Linked DNA regions of Homo sapiens: region 1 is linked to region 2. Evidence: promoter capture Hi-C in 16 types of primary human blood cells and fetal thymus (Javierre and others, 2016). All regions are on one chromosome and are shown on one strand. Each heading gives the region's core, a stretch centred on a gene start or on the middle of the fragment in contact. The rest is flanking DNA. Distances are from core to core; before and after follow the strand shown.

What was found. The method cuts DNA at HindIII sites, captures the fragments that hold promoters and counts their contacts. A CHiCAGO score of 5 or more calls a contact.
Region 1: the fragment with the promoter of NPTN here is called in contact with the fragment with the promoter of ARIH1 in region 2 in 1 of 17 cell types (monocytes); the score reaches 5.2 in monocytes.

Annotation. Positions count from the first base shown.
Region 1 is chr15:73,631,862-73,634,956 of GRCh38, reverse strand. NPTN (neuroplastin) reads left to right here and starts at 1,568. Exons shown (of 9, transcript NM_012428.4): 1 at 1,568-1,832. The coding sequence starts at 1,742. RefSeq lists silencers at 1,412-1,711, 1,792-2,051. The HindIII fragment of the contact is 2,824 bases long and covers 1,293-3,095 here.
Region 2 is chr15:72,472,564-72,475,913 of GRCh38, reverse strand. It overlaps ARIH1 (ariadne RBR E3 ubiquitin protein ligase 1), which reads right to left and starts at 1,584. Exons shown (of 14, transcript NM_005744.5): 1 at 900-1,584. The coding sequence starts at 1,274. TMEM202-AS1 (TMEM202 antisense RNA 1) reads left to right here and starts at 1,675. Exons shown (of 4, transcript NR_135678.1): 1 at 1,675-2,039. RefSeq lists enhancers at 461-670, 2,121-2,220 and silencers at 1,221-1,450, 1,493-1,689, 1,541-1,880. The HindIII fragment of the contact is 10,721 bases long and covers 1-3,350 here.

The sequences.
Region 1 (3,095 bases), core at 319-2,818, 1.2 Mb before region 2:
CAAACATTCTGAGAGCTGGAGCCGTTCGTGTCCTCCTTTGGCTTCAGCTTCCCTATCCACAAAAAGACCATGATCATTTTGTAAGAATCTCTTGTTGTAAGGATCAAAGAGCCACATTTGTTACAGCTATAATGAGGCAGAATGGTTGCATCCAACCAAAGCTTCCATCAGCTGAAAATCTTGATCCCACCACAGGCAGCCCTGTAGCCCTCCTTACTGGGCTGTCTGCAGAATGGCCTTTGTCCAGATGAAGGTACATGCCAATCTTTTTGTCACTCACACACCTGAGGTTTTGAAGGACATAGTTTTCACTTCAATCAACAACATGCCATAGTGGTCCTGGCCTTTGCTAGAAATTTTGGTCTGGAACCACCAGCTGTTCAGTTCCTGTTGAAAGTTCCAGACCACTTTAGCTTGATAGAGATTGCGAGGGTCTCCTTCTTCCAGGTCCTCCAAACCCTCTCTTTAAATCAAGTCAGGCCACCAGGACTGTTTACTTGGCCCCTCAGAGTTTCCACAGACACTCCCAGGACGTCTGCTGTGAGTCAGGGATGAGCTAAGCCATAGAAATTCCTTTGCCAACCACAAGCCCTGAGGGTAGTACAAAAAATACCCCTAAAAAGAGCATTTCCCAAACTTCTATGCAAACAGTAGTAACCACACTGCCAATCACCCTCCAGAGTGCTTTGCTAGATCCTTTCCTATGGGGCCATTTGACCCTTCCTCACTCCTCTGCTAGCCTAGGCAGTGCACTCCATGAGGACGGGGACTACCTTTTCATGTGGGTTTCACTATGTGCCTGGCACACAGCACGTTCTCAATAAATGTTTTCCGCATTAAGACGCTTCTTAGGAGTCTTCATGTAAGTTCATACACGACTTCCTTGTAGAATTGTGTCAATGAACATGCAATTAGGCTAGCTGAACTTCAGGCCCTGAGAGTCTATGAAGCTAAAATAAGGCCCAGATGTGGGGTGGGAGGGGGAGTAGGCAGAGGCGGCAAAGGAGGACATTTCAGGCAAAGGGAGCAGATGTCCAGGCAGGAAAGCACAAGGTAACGGGGGCACAGGGGGCGCACCACTTTTCCTGGAAGGAAAAAACAGCAGATGAGAGAAGGAGGTTGGAGCCAGTTACCAGTAGAGGTCTATGTTCAAAGTCCAGAAGGAAGAAACAGCAGGACGGGGACAAAGAGAGGAAGGAGGAAAGGAGGCACGGTGTATGAAACTCTGTAGCCAAGAGCGCTAACAAATGAAAGGCAGGATGGGTGGAGGAAATGTACTGTGTTCCAAAGCTTCCTCTTATTTATGGGTGCTCCCGGGCCACAGAGGAGTAAACTGAAGGACTTCCCAGCTCCCCACTGCCCAGAGAGCTAGCGGAGTCCCGCCTCGCCCCGTCACATGGCCAGAGGCGCCCTCGGCACGTGACCTACCTCGCGCTAGGCCAATCAGCCTCTGCAGGGGCGGGGCCACCGAGTCCGCGGGGCGGGAGTCTCCGTCGGAGCCGCCTCTTCTCGCGATCCTTGCGGCGGTCGCTCCTCAGCCGCCCACGACCCGGAGCGAAGGTCTCGCGAGGCCTGGGCGCTGCGGCGGCAGGAGGAGGACGGGGAAGGACGGAGCCGAGCCGCGGCTGCCTCCCTCGCTCACTCCCTCGCGCACTCGCCCGCCCCCTCCCTCCCTCCCCTCCCTTCCCCGGCCCCGGCTCTGGCCCCGGCCCATTCGCTGTTGGGTCTTCTGCTAGGGAGGATGTCGGGTTCGTCGCTGCCCAGCGCCCTGGCCCTCTCGCTGTTGCTGGTCTCTGGCTCCCTCCTCCCAGGGCCAGGCGCCGCTCAGAACGGTAAGCGGGGCGCCGGGGGCGGGCCGGGCGGGGGTTGAGGGGCGCCGGGGCCGGAGGGGGCCCGGCTCTGGCCTGAGGAGACGCTGGAGCTCGGGGAAGGGGGCCGAGTGGGCGTCTGAGGGGCTGCGGGTCCGAGAGGAGGTACCGGCTGCGGGTTTGAGGAGGCGCGGGTGTGAGGACCGGAGGCTCCTATCCGAGCGGCGGGGGCGTCCGGGGTGAGCCCGAGGTGTTGCCCACTCGGAGGCTCCACGTCGTGGGGCTCGTCGTGCCGGGTCGGCGAGGGGACACGGAGGAAGCCGACGTGGGGAGCTGGAGTAGCGGGGGCGGATGAGGAGGGGGCGCAGCTCTTAGGGAGGGTGGCACAAGACCGGCGTTTGTGTTCCGGGCGACGGGGATGGTGGTGTCCGTCAGGCCCCCCGGGAGCTGGGGTCGTCCAGGATTCTACTGAGGCCCCGTAGGACTGGTGACATCCTTAAAAATAAGGGGGAAATTGGGGGGAAGAGAGTCCTGAGGAACACTAATGGTGAGCTGAGTACTAGAGACCAAAGGAGGGGGTAAAGAATCAGGGAACCTTGGATCTAGGGATAGAGGGAAGGTGGGTGGGAAGATGAGGGAGTGGGTTGACTGCAGTAGGGGACCTGGAGAGAGAAGCAGCAGTGTCTCCAAATGAGCTGGGGGAAGAGGGCTGGGTTTGCTAAAGAGGGTGGAGTGCTGGGCATTCTAGGGTAGTGGTTGGGAGAGCAAAAAGGAGTTTCTAAATAAGGAGAGGAAAATGAGCAGAGGATGGAGGGAAAGGGTTGGAACTGAGGTGGGGGAATATTTATTAGAGAAGTAAGGAGGCCTGGGTATAGAGATGGGGGTGGGGGAAGACGAAAAATAAGGGAAGGGAGTAAAATGCAGGAAGTCGGGGGTGTAATGTTGGTTTGCAGTGTGGAGGATAAATTAGGGAAGGGAGGAGTTGGGATGTGGCAAATGCTGTATGATATTGGTCGGGCCTTTGGGAAAACAGGGACACATAGCTGCAACTAATTGCAGTGGTGGGATTGAGGGCAGTGACTGGCGACAGGGAGATGGGGAAGTGGATTTTTGAGATTTAAAAGTTTCAAGACAGAAGAGACGTTATTTCCGAGGAACATGAAAGTGGCCCCTGGGAGGTGGTACAGTAGAAAGCAGAGAATTACTGGGTTTTGAATTGAAGCTCCTTTGAGAAGATGGAGAAGTGGTGGGGAATCATGGGCATAGGGACCTAAACAGAGCAGATTC
Region 2 (3,350 bases), core at 335-2,834:
AAAATGCAAAATCTGACGCACATGGTTAAATGAGATGTGGTTATCAACTTACACCAAGCCTAACTTACCACAAAATAGAAAATATCAGAGAAAGGAGTTCACAAGCAGAAAACCTCTGCTTTCTAACTCACAATAGAGTCTTGTCCAATATTAGACAACACTGCGTTTTGTTGTTGTTTTAGCTACAAGGAAGGGTATGCAATATGCAGTAACTATTCCAACAGCTTCAAGCAAGTCATCTGCTACGACTAGAAAAAGTAGCAATTAGGTCCCAAACAGCAAAGACATAAAAAAGATGTAAGCAGAAGCCTCACCATCTGAAAAGAAGGCCCATCAGCACCTCTTCCGAGAAATACTTCCCTTCCCCCACCTTTAAGTAGGCACTTGAGACTGCCAAGATCCATTTCTTTATTAACTGGTGCCCACTTGGGGCAACTGTACACCAAGCTGCTCTTAGGCCTACTCTAATCCCTTCCAAAAGTGCTCAAATGAGGCTACGGCCGGGGTAAGTCCCGTCAGGGCCCAATTCTTCCTGACTCCTCTTCTCCACCCCACCTCCTCCGCCCCGCCCCAGTAGGCGATCGCCCGGCCAGAGAAAGGACACCCGGCCCAGGGACTGGCAGAAATTGCCCGCAAGAGAAGGCTTAGGCGACCGAAGGCCTCCGCCATAGCAGGACTTGGGAAGCACCGCCCCCAGCGCACCTCCCCACACCCGGCTAATCGGCGAACCTCTGCTTTCGACACCCTCTATCCCCAGCAGAGGCAGCGGAGAAGACAAGGCCGGGAGGCACCGGGCTAGGCTGCGCACCAGGCCCAGGCCTGTCCCTCGGGACCGCGCGTGCCGCCTGAATCCGCTCCCCCGTCGGGCCCGGTCCAGCTGGCGCGGCGGCCACCCTCACCTGGATGACCTCGTTGACCTCCCGGATACATTCCACCATGTGTTGTAGAATCTGCTCGGCCGTGAGCACCTCGTAGCGGTAATCCTCCTCCTGCTCATGCCCCGGCCCGCCACCACCACCGCCGCCGCCGCCGCCGCCGCCACCGCCGGGCCCCAGAGCGCTGCCGCCGCCACCGCCCGTCTCCCCGCACAGCAGTCCGTCCCGCTCCCCGCCGACGCCCAGCCCGGGCTCCACCAGCTCCACCTCGCCCAGATCCAGGGTATCATCGTCCGGCTCGTCGTCGTCTTCGTCCTCCTCCTCCTCGGCGCCGCTGTCCTCCTCACTGCACTCCTCGTCCTCGTCGAACTCGTAGTTGTAGCCCTCGTCCGAGTCCATGGCGCGACGCGCGGGGGCCCGGCGGACGCTGGCCGAGGCGGGGAGAGGGCGGGGACGCCGAGGCCCCGGCTCTCGCTCCGGCTCCGGCTGATGTCCGGACGCAGGCCTGGCTCCGGCCCCGCGAGCCGCGGCTCCTCCCCAGGAGCGGCGGTTGGCGTTTGACGGCTGGTGGCGGCGGGGAGGGCGCGGAGGAGGGAGGGAGGGAGCGAGGGGGCCGCTTGCTGCCCGCCTCAGTCAGACGCGGCTCCGCTCCGGCCTCCGAGAGAAAACAGTCCCCAACGCCACCTCCACGGCCGCTGCTATCGCTACTGAGCCAACAAAGGGGCGTGCGTCACCGCGTCGCGCTGCGTCGTCGCGTCACTCCTCTTTGCGTCACTGCGCCCCGCCCCACCGCCCCTGCGTGGAGCCCGGGGAGACCCCACGGCCCGGCCTTCCTGGGCCTGGGACCCGAGGGGAGCCGAGCGGGAATTGCTTTCCTGGTTCGATCCGCTGCCGCTGTGAGGGCCGAGCGGAAACCCGTAGACCTTTTATGTGAAGAGATTGCGGCCTCCTGGTCACCAGTCACCGAGAGAGGGACCCCTGGACCGCCTACGTGGTGGTGTCTGCCGCAGGCCATAGGGATCCAGCCCACTTAGGCAGTCCCTTGGGGACGCGGCCTTCCCTCCGGAGCGGAAAGGCGCTTCCCGCCCGCCCTGCGGTAATCCCGGAAGCCCTCAGCCGTTAAGCTAAAATTTCTGTTGCTTTGGCTACTGATGGAAACCTGTTGTAAGTGGAACCTCTAAACTGTATGACAGGTGAACCCACTTTAGGTAGCTGTGTGATTCTGTCCACTTGTACAGACGTGCAGTGGTTTTTAAGTCTCCTATAATGACGTCATTTTAAAGAGGCATTTCCTCCACCCCGCTGACAAGAGCGCCTCTTGAGGGCCCTAAACAATGTAAACAGCGATGATTTTCATGAATTGAGCACTGTGTAAGGGCTTTACATATATTCTGTCTCATCTTCACGGAGCCATAGTACCCATTTTATACCTGAGGAACCTGAAGCTCAGAAAGGAAAAGGGACCTGGCCAAGACCACATAACCCTTGCCCTATTTTAACCGCTGGATGCCCCAAAACATGAATCATAAAAATGCTTTGTAATGTAGATATATTATGTACTATGTAGTACATAAAAGACATGAATGCTTCAACAAAATACAGGCAATAATAGAAATATCTACAAGGGCCAAATGTAGCCAGAGAGATAATGCTTGAATCTCATCTGAAAGTGTGCTATGTGAGCTGAGTGTTGATGAATGGCTAGGAGTTCAACAGAGAAGGTAGGGAAGATGGTCTAGCCGCAGAGAACAAGCAAAAGCGCAGAAGGTGTCAAGTAAGTAATAGTTTGGGGAGCTTAAAGTGCATGGAGGGTACATGGCAAAATATTAGGCAAGTTAGTCAGGGGTCATGTCAGTTAAGAGCATTTTATGCCTAAGAGTGGGCTTAAATCTTTGCAAACAGGACATGCGAGCCAGAGAAGTGTTATGAAGGAAGAAGAGGCATAAGAAGGCTCCCTCTTGAGATAATCTGAAGAATTGGCCAGATTGAAAACCTTTTAAAATCAAAACCCCTGATTTGTTGATAAATCTTACTGTTCAACCTATAGGTTCCCTTTGGAAATTGATTTTGAAAAGTGAAAAATTCCATTATAATGTTAAAAAGCCTCTTCCAATTTGTCCATTTTGTAAGTTTTAAAATACCGATAATTATATTTCTTAACCTCAGGATTTACAAAGTAAAGCATTTAACCTCAATACTGGTAGTCTAGGTTTTTGTTGTTGTTGTTGTTGTTTGTTTTTTTCTTGAGACGGAGTCTCGCTCTGTTGCCCAGATTGGAGTACAGTGGTGATCTCAGCTCACTGCAGCCTCTGCCTCCCAGGTTCAAGCGATTCTCCTGTCTCAGCCTCCTGAGTAGCTGGGACTACAGGCGCATGCCACCACCCCAGGCTAATTTTTGTATTTTTAGTAGAGATGGGGTTTCACCATATTGGCCAGGCTGGTCTCGAATTCCTGACTTCAGGTGATCCACCTGCC